Linked DNA regions of Homo sapiens: region 2 is linked to region 1. The links are contacts of gene promoters, found by promoter capture Hi-C in blood cells and fetal thymus (Javierre and others, 2016). All regions are on one chromosome and are shown on one strand. The core of a region is centred on a gene start or on the middle of the fragment in contact, and the rest is flanking DNA. Distances in the headings are between cores, read along the strand shown. Region 1 holds the start of BDP1 (BDP1 general transcription factor IIIB subunit). Region 2 overlaps MRPS27 (mitochondrial ribosomal protein S27).

The links. Contacts are between HindIII fragments. The CHiCAGO score rates a contact against its expected background, and 5 or more counts as called.
Region 2: a contact is called between a fragment that was not itself captured here and the fragment with the promoter of BDP1 in region 1, in 1 of 17 cell types (neutrophils). The highest score is 5.7, in neutrophils.

The regions. Positions count from the first base shown.
Region 1 is chr5:71,453,733-71,459,986 of GRCh38, reverse strand. BDP1 (BDP1 general transcription factor IIIB subunit) reads right to left here and starts at 4,336. Exons shown (of 39, transcript NM_018429.3): 1 at 3,898-4,336; 2 at 1,132-1,408. The coding sequence starts at 4,109. RefSeq lists enhancers at 3,549-4,474, 4,475-5,401. The HindIII fragment of the contact is 8,261 bases long and covers 1,712-6,254 here.
Region 2 is chr5:72,240,038-72,246,279 of GRCh38, reverse strand. All of the region lies in intron 4 of MRPS27 (mitochondrial ribosomal protein S27), which reads left to right. Among named protein-coding and RNA genes, the nearest start is that of MIR4803, 74 kb to the right of the region's middle. RefSeq lists a silencer at 984-1,278. The HindIII fragment of the contact is 1,128 bases long and covers 4,411-5,538 here.

The DNA of each region.
Region 1 (6,254 bases), core at 3,087-5,586:
AAATGATTCACATTTTGGATTTTTTCACATTTTTGAATACTTGCAGAATACATGCTGGCTGAGCATCTCTAACCTGAAAATTTGAAATCCAATATGCTCCAATGAGCATTTCCCTGGAGCATCACTTTGGCACTCAAAACATTTTAGACTTTGGAGCATTTTCAATTTCAGGGATGCTCAACCTGAACTATTATTGGTCTATTTTACAGATGAGGAAATAGATTAATTAAATTACCCAAGGTCACAAAGCTAGTAAAGAAATGAAGCTGAGATTCAATCCCTAAGTATTTAACTCCAGGGCCAGCATGCTCTACTGCTGTTACCTGCCCTTCTAGAAAAGAAATCAATCCTCAAGATTAAAAAGAACATGGACTCTAATATATGCATAACACAAATTTTTCCCACTTGTAATTTTCCATAGTCAATTTAGAAAACATTACCAATTCATTCTGCTCAACTATATTCGTCTTTTTTTTGGAGACAGTTTCACTCTATCACCCAGGCTGGAATGCAGAGGCACAATCTCGGCTCACTGCAACTTCCACCTCCCAGGTTCAAGCAATTCTCATGCCTCAGCCTCCCCAGTAGTTGGGATTACAGATGCACGTCACCAGGCCCAGCTAATTTTTGTATTTTTAGTAGAGACAGGGTTTTGCCATGTTGGCCAGGCTGGTCTTGAACTCCTGACCTCAAGTGATCTGCCCCCCTAGTCCTCCCAAAGTGCTGGGATTACAGGCATGAGCCACCACGCCCGGCCTATACTTGTCTTAATTCAAATAAATATATCACTTATCACTTGGACATCTTTATGTGAAAAATCAGACTGAAGGTTTATTTTATAAATATGTTTGTGTATGTGCATCTATGTGTATGCGTATGAAACTTATTTGTGGTCTTCACCAAAAACAGTGAAAACATAAATAAATAATGTAAAAATTACTATCAGTGAAAAATGTAATTTAAGTCCACGGTGTATCAATCAATCCATTAACAAGAAGGGATGTTCTATTGACTAAGGGATGTTATGTGGTTTTGTTCCCCCATCAAAATGCTACAAATGCTTTTCTTCCCAATGATTCCTTACTAACATAAATAGAAGGCAACATCAAAATCCTGATTCTCCTCCCTTACCTTCTCTTTTCTCAATTCTTCTTTTAACATTTCCCTCAGTTTCTGGGCTTTGTATATTCGGTATCTGTCTGAGCATGGCTGTTTCTCTTTTGTTGAAGTGGCAGTTGGCTGTGGAGCCTCTTGATTAATTGTAGATAAGGGATGAGATTCTGAAGGAACACTGACACTAGACTTAACCAGGCTAGAAGTACTTGATATTCGCTTTCTTCTCTGTGAAACAGTAGAGGAAGATCTACTGGATTCTTCAACATCATTGTCACCACCAGTCTTTTCAGTACTGTTGAAATTAAAAAAGAAAAAAGAGGGCACATGAATCTTCTGTTACACATGCTAGTTTTAAAACCTAGTCTGGTGAAAATCCAAAACTGCAATCTCGTAATTAAAAAAAAAAAATTAGTAACTTGAGATTTATGATAATTATGACAGGTTACAAAAAAATTTGTTTAGTAAATCTTTTAAATATACGTAAATTCTAATAGACTCTTAATCTTTTTCAAACATAAAGTCCCTAGGCACATTACAGCACATAATTATAGGCTTACCCCCCTCAAAACAAATAACCAACTTACAGAACAAAGCTTAGTCAACCTAATTTGAATTACTAAGTAACAAAGTAATAATTTATAATTAATTTCTATATAAAATTTAAAAAAATTTTAATTCACTCTGACATTTTAAACTGGTCTAAACTACCGGCATTTTACTTTACTTATCAACCCGAGGTCAGTCAAATCAAATATGCAAAACTCCAAACCTCTGAAATATCTGTATTGCAGTATTTGAAGAAAAACATTTAGTTACAGTAGCCAAACCCAATTCCCTTTGAGGCAGAAATCATTTATCTTTTGTCAGGTACAACTCTACTTATACAGCCATCAGAATAAACTTCAGTCAAAAAAAGTACTCAGTCACCCCAAATTGCATATTAGGTATGGTATACCTCAGATATAAGTATTTCAGGAATGGTCTATAAATGCAACTTAAGTCAAGAAAAGAGGTGGTATAAGTCAATAATTAAAAACAGTCTACTTTTTTCCTATTTTATAATTACTTATAAAAAATTAGAAAATGCCTTAACTTATAGAATAACCTTTCCAGGAAGACTTCAATTTAAATTCGTATCTTAGCTGTTATGGATACATGCATTATCTGCATTTCACCCAATTATGTTGAATGCATAATGACAGAATATATATCCTATAGAGTTTTACAACTAGCAAAGACCCACAAAAAAATAAAAAGAGGCTGGGCACGGTGGCTCACACCTGTAACCCCAGCACTTTGGGCTGAGGCAGGTGGATCACTTGAGGTCAGGAGTTCGAGTCCAGCCTGGCCAACATGGTGAAACCCTGTCTCTACTGAAAATACAAAAATTAGTTGGGCGTGGTGGGGCACGCCTGTAGTCCCAGATACTTGGGAGCCTGAGACAGGAGAATTGCAAGAACCCGGGAGGTGGAGGTTGCAGTGAGCCGTACCACTGCACTTCAGCCTGGGCGACAGAGCAAGACTCCATCTAAAAAAAAAACTAATTAAAAAAAAAAAAAAAAACCACTTTCCCAGAGTCAGTAATGGCAAAAAAAGTGACTAAAAAACAAATTATATTCCCCAAACGTAAATGTCAACTCAAAAAAAAAAATTAAATATCCTTGACCATAAATATCTCAAAACTACAATCTTTGGGCAATTTATTAAATTATCAACCATCACGCACTCACACATAATTAACGAAATCTCTGAGAACTTTATTAATGTAACAGCGACTAGTATCGGTATCTCCTTTCTGTGTAGAAATTTTGAAACAGATTCATGTAATAAACTTGGAAATTACTAACCATCACTGAACTATCAACGTAACACCATACACTCAGCACCAGTTCAGGCCAATAGAGGAAGATGTTCCAAAAATAAATAAATGTTTCACCTTCCTATCACAGCATAAACAGAATTTGTACTATCTCACTTCACTTAACAAGGCTGTTTACTGATTTCCTCATATATATAGAAACAGAGACCATCTTAGCCTAACATGTCTTAAATTTACTCCATCACCTTTCTAAAAAACTAGTAACTTTTTGCGGGCAACTATTCTGCTATATCCCCTGCAAGGTAGTTAATATGAATTATCTCCAATCTGCACCAAAACGCTCCAAGTAGGCAATATTATTCCCATTTTGCAGATGAGCAAATTCTGCCTGAGAAAAGTTTACCTGTAGACTAAAAGAGTCCTGAATCCAAATATGATACATGACGCTAAAGCCATGCTTCTCTATTCAGGAAACACGGTCACCATAGTTAAAGAGGCACACTTCAATTAAGTGACCAGAACTCTTACTCACTGACATAAATCGGTAAAGCCAAAGCAATACTTATCTTCTCCTTTAAAAAATAAATATTTTATAAATTGAAAGACAAAAACACTTCCCTGCAAAGCACTCCAGAAGGATGAAAACTATAGTGACCTAAATTCTCAAATGAATAGTGTGGATATTCTTCACTTCAGGACTGCCATACCCCGATTCTCCCTACCACCACTTGAAGACATGGTCTCCTCTCGGAGAATCTATAGACCGTGACAAAATCCACACAAGCCACACCCTGCAGGTCAGACAACTAAACTGCAGTTTGGAGTGGTTTCATCAAGCCTCAACTGAAAGGCTTACTGCAAACGAGAGCGGACTCCTGTGATAAAATTCATTTGCTCAGCTTCCAGGTGACATGCCCGGAGAGGCGGGACAAATGAAAATTCTTCCCTCTGCAACCTCTTACCTGCTCCTAGGAGCCTTTTCTTGGGGCTCCGCTCCACCGAAATCGACTGTGGGCACATCTGTGGGCTCCGCGGGCTTGGAAGCAGAGTCCGTGGCAGGATCCGGCGGCCTGGGAGACTCCCGTCCACGCTGGGGATTGGAAGCTGTGGAGCCCCTGGCGCCTACACCAGGCCTGACATTCGGCTTCACGCTAAGGCGTGCCCTGCGGAACATGGCGGAGGCAGGGGGCCCGGGGAGGCAGCCTCACGGCCGCTCACAGCCCCGAGCCCCGGCGGCTGCCCGGAAAGGGGATTAGGAACTACGCCCTCCCCACAAAGCCACACCACCAGCTCAGGGGGCAGCTACCGTAGTTTCACTGCCCCGCCGCCGCCTCCTCCTCTCTCCCGCCGCCGCCGCTTTTTCATGACCCTGCCACACACCGATGGCTAAATTTCACCCTCCTCCCAGCATCCCCGCGCTCACAGGACGCCGCAACTGATTGCGCCATCAGCCAGCGCCGCAGAATGACGTCAGACGCACAGCACTGGGAGCCATGGTAACTACCAAGCTACTGAGACTGGGTTACCTGCGGACCAGAAATTGAGATGCAGAGATATTTGCTCTTTCTTCTCCAGGAGTCCTTAGGAGTAGTTGAAAAGAGGAACAGAAGAAAGTCCACTTCTCTGCTCAAACCTTTACTGGAACTATTAAAATCGCTGGCCGATTTTGTCTTTTGAAGATCCTGAAGGGTTTAGAAATTCTAAATTGAGTAGACATAGATTAAAAATGCTGGTGTGAAGAAACTGATAATAGTTACCTCCCAGGAGAGGAATGTGTTTCTGGAAAACACGTCGTGGTAGGAAGACCATTTACCGTACGCCTTTGTGTACTTTTTTGTTTTTGTCCTTTGAGACAGGGTCTTGCTCTGTCGCCTAGGCTGGAGTGTGCAGTTGCGCGATCTTGGCTCACTGCAGCCTCCACCTCTCGGGCTCAGGCGATCCTCCCGTCACAGCCTCCCAAGTTGCTGGGACCACAGGCACGCGCCACGACACCCGGCTAATTTTTTTTTTCTCGTATATTTAGTAGAGACGGGGTTCATCATGTTGCTTAGGCTGATCTTGAACTCCTAGGCTCAAGCGAGCCACCCATTTGGCCTCCCAAAGTGCTGGGATTACAGACGTGAGCCACCACGCCCAACCTCCTTGTGTACTTTTTAATATGAATGTATCACCCGAGATCGTACCACTACACTCCAGCCTGTTTAAAAATTATTATAGTTGAAACCTTGTAAATTATTGTGAGTGTTCTTAATCTGCTTCAGGAGGTAGCAGTAAACAAGACGTTCTGGATTTGGGAGGAGAAAATACAAAAAAGAAATGAACAAGATATTTTTAAAATGTATCAGGCCCGGCGTGGGTGCCTCATGCCTGTAATCCCAGCATTTTAGGAGGCTAAGGCAAGGCAGATTGCTTGAGGTCAGGAGTTCGAGACCAGCCTGGCCAACATGGTTAAACTCCATCTCTACTAAAAATACAAAAATGAGCCAGGCCTGGTGGTGCAAGCCTGTAATCCCAGCTATGGGAGGCTGAGACAGGAGAATGGCTTGAACCCTGGAGGTGGAGGCTGCCGGGAGCCAAGATGGCACCACTGCACTCTAGCCTAGGCAACAGAATGAGTGAGACTCTGTCTTAAAATAAATGAATTAATTAATTAATTGCAATAAAATAAAGTATATCAAATGTCATGAAATAAATTTAAGGGTTGAATGCCGGGTATGGCGAGGCACGCCTATAATCCCAGCTACTGTGGAGACTGAAGTGGGAGGATCTCTTGAGCCCAAGACTTCCAGACCAACCTGCTCAAAATATTGAGACCCCTAAAACAAATTACCTACATGCGGTGGCTGTGATGGCTCCCACCTCTAGCTCCAGCTACCTGGAAGGCTGAGGCAGGAGGTCCAGGCTGCAGTGAGCTATGATAGTGCCACTGCCCTCCAGCATGGGTGACAAAGTGAAACCTTGTCCTTAAAACAAAAATTTAATAATAAGAAGAAAAAAAAGAGAGAAATGTACAGGATGATGTGATAGAAAGTAATGGGAGGGAGGCTGGCAGTAGAGTGGCTAGGGAAGTCCTCTATGATGAGAGGAAAAATAGCCAGAGCTGAGGTTGGCCTTGGAGGTATTGGGCCAATGTTTGAACCAGTGATACAAATCCCCTGACTCATGGGAACACAAAGGCCTGACTTTCTTCTTAGAAGGAAAAGAAAATCCTACAAGAATATGGTGATACATTAATAACAAAAGGTCAAAGGAATAAAATTCTGAACTGACTGAAGAAATTGATCACCTAAAGGGAGAACAAAAAAGAGGCAAGTGCTTT
Region 2 (6,242 bases), core at 3,725-6,224, 790 kb before region 1:
TTTCTTCTTGGCTTCAACTTTATTTTAGCCAGGATACTTCACAACCAGAAGTGAATTACTGTTTCAAATATAAATAATCCTCATGAATTTCAGCATGCATGATGGGTATTTATGCAGTCTTAGCAGGCCGAGTCACTGTTGCCAAATTATCAGGCACCTACTTGAGTCCTTGTTCACTTGTTTGTAGACGCAAAATGATAGATAACTTGTCCCCTGCCTTTTAAGAGCTTAAAAGCTTAATAGAGGAGTCAGTAGAGTTACAGAAATAGAAACTAGCTATGAATTGGATTGTATCACTGGAAGTATGTCCAACCTTCCTTTTGCTACAAACAAAGAATGCCTAGGGATTCAACTTTTTCATGTGTTAGAGAATCAGAATGTTTAAAATACTGAGATGCTTTTCTTCTTTAATAAAAATCTAATTCTTAAGAAATCCTGATTAGTACTGAGCTTCTCTTCCCTCAGAAATACCCCTAAAGAAATCCGTAATCTCACATACAAACACATATAAATCTGCTCAACACTGGCTTAATTCTTTTCTGCTTTTACCCTGGTGTGCTTCATCTCCTGGGCCAGGCTCTTTGCCTGCTCATTTCTTTTGTGGCAGACTTAATCCTGACAACTTCACTAAGCCTAGCATACTCCAGAAATTCTGGTTTTTATTTCTATTCTATTCCTTTGTTTTCCTCCTTTTTTTTCTTTCTCACCTTTCTTTTTCCCAGAATTATTCAAAACCAGTGTTTAATTAATATATGTGATTTTCCTATCTTAATCATTGTATTATTTGTGATTTTGCAGAAATTTTATCTGCAGTTCCTAGCCAAAGCTTTAGGAGACATCAGGAAATGTTTGCATGTATTTAAAACTGGCTCATTTATTGCTCATAAATTTCCTACTCAAAAACCAAAATATTTCGCTTATCTCTGTCCAAACCAAGCCAGTTTCCATAACTTTATATGCTTTTATAAACAGGACTGGTTCCGGGATCCAGTTTTTCTCAACATCCTGCTGTTCCTAGGTAAAGGCCCTCTGTAGCCTAACCTTGGCCTTCAGTAACTGCCTCTCAGTCATGAAGCTGACCTGTGAGCCAGTGTGTGTATAGCTTTAGAGAGGCTGGAGAAGTCTTACCAGCTGCTTCTGGGTGCAGTTTCACTGATAGGTCAGGTGGTGGCCACAAAGCCATTTTCTGCTTTTAGGACCATCTCCAGATGGGCACCTCAGTGATGACTGTAAATACTTGTTTCTTCTCCCATTCTCCCCACAAGTAATCCTCCCTGGTTATCTACACATATTGCTCTTTGGAGGCTGATAAAATAGTGTTCCAGGCTTTAGACAAAGAACACAACTGACTTCATTCTGACTGCCTCCCTTATGTACCATGAAAGTAAGAGAGAGAGAGAGAGAGAGAGCAGCAGAGCTTACAGTCTGTCTATAGGTATTTTTTCTGTATCAGAAAGGGAGAGATGTCATCTTTAAGATAGGAGTTAGGGCTAGGCATGATGAGAGGCCAAGGCAGGAAGATCACTTGAGGCCAGGAGTTTGAGATCAGCCTGGTCAACATAGCAACACTTCCGTCTCTACTTAAAAAAACAAAAAAAAATTGGAATTAAAGGAAATTAGTAGATCAGTGGGTAAAGAATATAGATCACCATGCCTGAGCAAAAGGTAGCTACTCAGTAAATACTTAAATGAAGCAGAAATATGTCTTCTAGACTGAGAGTTAGATCTGGCAAAACAGCAGGCAGATCAGAGAGCAGGGAGAGAGAATAATGTGGTGACATGCATCCTACTTTTGATTGCTTTCTGTTTCATGAGAGGATGTGGATAATAAGAATAACTCTCCTGGAGTAGTTTCTAGTATGTCATATTTATACCAGTGTGTTTCCAGGTGAAATGCTAAGGGCCTCTTTTTTAAGCCCTTGGTCTGACAAATTCAGACTTTGATATCTAACAAGTCCCTCTGTTATCTATCTTCATTTCAAAAAATGTGTTGTTATGCTGCATTTATTTAGCACTCCACATCTGCAAAATTCTATGCCCCTGTTATTCTCTACCAAAAATCTACTTACTCATCACCCTTTTTAGATTAGCAGGCAGGGATTCCAGAAGGTCTAATGACTATATGTAGGGCTCAAAAAAAAAACTACTCACAAGCTGAGTTTTAATTTTTTCAAATTCTTCTGGGAAATTGACAGAATATACATTATAAACCAACCAATAGATGATATTGTGGTGGTTTTATTATCTTATTTGCTTTTCCTCTTACAAAATTAATAACTCTAGATCTGGAAAGGGACCCAAGGAGGTTACCTATATAAAATTTGCTTAAATTGACCAGCAAACCCTGGAGAGGTTGACTACAAAGGGGGCTTATCTTGATTGTGGTCATGATTATGCAACTGGATGCATTTGTCAAAATTCATAGAACTGTAAACTGAACGTATGAATTTTTTTGTTTGTACATTGTATCTCTGTAAACTTGACTTTAATTTTTTAAAAATTAGAACTTTTAAAGAAAGACATTTTTATCTGTATTGTGAAGGTAGATAGTGAATTCGTTGGAAATATTCAAGCCCAATCTGGTTGACTTTTGTTGGCAGGGTGGGAGAGGTGTTTTGGAGGGGACTCTAGCACCTGGTGCTTTTATTTTGTGCAGGCTAAGTGTGTGTATGTGGAAAGTTAAAATTACCTTAAATTCTTTGAGTAAGAATCTGAGATCCCAAGCAGGAAATTTTAACTTATAATACTGATGTTTTTATTATCGATTTCTGTATTAAACCCTGCCCTCTTTTTTTAAGTACTTGACAAAAATATAATAGTCATTAGAAAATTATCTCATCAAAATTTGATTTTATTTGTGGTAGTTGAGGGCAACTAATAATTGTTAGTTTTGAAATTAACAATTCTGAAAGCAGAATTTCCAGCAGGATGAAAAAGAAAATAATGAGAAAGTGAGTAGCAGTGATTGAATCAGATTCTGATTTAAATAGTCACATGACACTCTTGGTCTTTGGTTCTAGTTCAAGGAAGCGCTCATTCCTTTTGATAGTTGCTAACTTTCCTTCATTGGTAAGATCCTCAGTCCACACTACAGGCTTTGAAGCCAGCCATATTTTCTTCTTGGCATTCTTTCTTTCCTCCCTTTACCCTGACCCCCTCTCCCATCTCTGTCTACCCAGCTCCGTGGCTGAGGTTCCCATCTGTAAAGCCTGTTGCCACAGGATACAGAATTCACTGGGGCGGAGGGAAAGCTGCATGTGTGTGTTTAGGGCTGGTGGCTCTCGGAATCGGATAAACATTGTGGAAAGCTTGCTCATTCATGTGGAAGAACCAGTGTGTTACAGCTAAATGGTGGAGCTGTGAGCTGCTGGGCTCTAGGCTCTGGCATCTGTGCATTGGGCCTGCCCAGCCTGGAGCATTTTTATTTGTGAGACCGAAAATGCTGATGAGCATTGCCACTTTAGCCGTTCAACAATAACAAAACCTTTATTTCAACCCCGTGGAAGAAAGGCTATATTTTCCTTTTTTTTCCCCCCTATTTTTGGTGTGTATGTGTGCTATGAGTGCCGTGAGTGTGTGTGTGTGTGTGTGTGTGTGTGTGTGTGTGTGTGTGTAGACGGGGTCTCGCTGTGTTGCCTAGACTGGTCTCAAACTCCTGGCCTCAAGACATCCTCCTACTTTACCCACCAAAAGTGCTGGGATTACAGGCATGAGCTACTGTGCCTAGGCCACTTTTTTTTTTTAATTAAATGACGAAATTGGTCAAACAAGAAATCCCATGCGACTTTTACACACAATAGAGTACCTCCTATATAATCACAGTCAGTCTGTGGTGTTTTTTTTTTTTTTTTCACTCTTGATCTCTTTTATATAACCTCTCTTCCCTTCTAAGAAATCTCTGTGATATCCAAGACTTTCACTCCCATGTCATTTTGGCAGCCTGTGATTCTGCTCTCCTTCTTTCCTGGTAACATCAGTCTTGAATGAGCAGCAGTGCAGGCAGATGCCCTTAAGAGTTCTGAGTATGGCCTGAGTTTTGAGAATAGGATGCTTCTCAGTTCCTGCTATTTTATTGGCCGTGGTTTGGCTTCCTAGGCAAGCTCTGTCTTCACCTGAAAATCCTACTCAACACTGGGGACAGAGATCTCTTTAGCCATGGGATACCAACTTTTAGAACTAGAGCTAGAACTTGAGAGTACACTTTGTCACTCTTTCTTATGCTCCTCCAAGAAATACACATTTCCTCAGAATTGTAAGTGTAATCACATTTTATAAGCTGAAATCTCAGAGTACCTTTAGCCTTCATGAGCACAACCTTGTTGGGGATATTTGGGTTGTATTTGTTTCTCTTTTCTACACTCACATGTTTGCCTATCTTGACAGCCTGTTGGCCTAGGCAATAATAAAGCTTCTGTCGAGGTGAGCAAACAGCTGATGGCATAGGCGCACAGAGGGGACTCCTACAGTGGCTGGCTGTAATCTGCCAGGCTGGTGGTCAGAGCAGGCGAGAACAAAAGCCAGTCTGTTTGCAGGCAAATTGGAAAATCAATGTGTTAGTTGTATTCTTTTCTCTTTGCCTTTCTTCTGACAGAAAGGGAGAATGCTCATCCAGCAATCCACAGAATTATTCCAGGCAAGTGCCCATTCCAGAGACTCACTCACCTGACATATTACTACTGGAAGTTGAAAAGTCCCCACATTTATTTGTCTGAACTGCTTAAAAAGTCACCAACAGGAATTCTTCTCAAACTTGCCATCCAAAATTGAACCCCGCTGGCCCAGTGTTTTGACTTGTTTATATTCCAGATAGCCACTCACGTAAGTTTATCTTTTTAATGCTGATGGGGGCCAAGAAAGGAGTTCATTTGCTTCCTGGCTGGGAAATTCAGGAATTGCATTTTGGGCAGCATATTTTATAGTATGTGTGTAAGTATTTCACTGCTTTTCCTCAGTTTATTTTTTGTGAGAGTTCATTGAAAATGTCCAAGGCTGGGCACAGTGGCTCATGCCTATAATCCCAGCTCTTTAGGAAGCCGAGGTGGGAGGATCACTTGAGGCCAGGAGTTTGAGACCAGCCTGAACAACATAGCAAGACCCTGTCTCTACAGAAATAAAGAAGGAGGCAAAGGCAGGAGGATCACTTGAGTCCAAGAGTTCAAGGCTGCAGTGAGCTGTGATCTTGCAGTTGCACTCCAGCCTGGATGACAGAATGAGACTTTGTCTCTCAAAATGTATATACAATAAAAAAGAAAATGCCCTAGACATAATTGGGTCTAAGATTGTTAGGGCTTAGAGAGCAGAGCTCATACCAAGTAGCCTTGTCCCAGGATAGGAGAGGGAGTAGACTTATTAAAGACTTCTCTGAGTGTCTTGACAAATATCTCAAAAGGCTGCTGTGCAGAGATGATTGTATTCGATGTGTGAAGTCTTGAGTAACTTTCCCTTTAGGCTTCTAAGAGAGAAAGTCTGTGAAGGAAGGGTTTTTGAGAAGAAAAGACTTTCTTGCTCTTCCTTGTGTTGAAGTTAGCCTTAGAAGCTTAGCAAATGGCTTTAAATATGTTTTAATTTGAGCTTTGAAGGTCTGAAACTAGGCTCTCATTATCAGTCTTTGTTATTTTTTCAAAGCCTAAAAGTGGTCTGCTGATCATGAATAAGAGAAAGGTGTTTGGTTGGATATGGTCATGGTATTCTTATTGTAAAGTTCATCATCAAAAAAAAGTTACAACTTTAGTGGCCATTGGAAACATCCTGAGCCAGAACCTTAGATTTAAAATGAGTATTAGGTTTAAAATAATCTTGAGTGAGGGTAGTAATTGGCATTTGATATATTTTTTTCCCAAAGTCATTACCAAAAAATAATTATATTTCGTTTTGTTTCTTTTTAAAGGAAAAATTGACTAAACCCAACAACTGCTACTACCAAAAACCCTTCAGCCTCTAGCAATCCCTTTTGTCTTTAGCACTTATCATGCTCCACCTCGTATTATTATTAAATTATGTGTGCATCGTTTTTGTAATGAGACTCTAAATGCCCTGAAAAGGAAATTTACATATCTTCATATATACCATAGACATTAACAGAATGATCGGGACATAACAGCATTTAATACCAGTGTTGATTAAAGCTCTTTTTTTAATTAGCTGAAAAACCTATGGGCCAAGAATTGTGTCAGTACAGGAATCAGTATTGAGCAAGTCAGTCTCTGTCTCTGCTGACACAGGAACTTACAGGCTGATGAGGA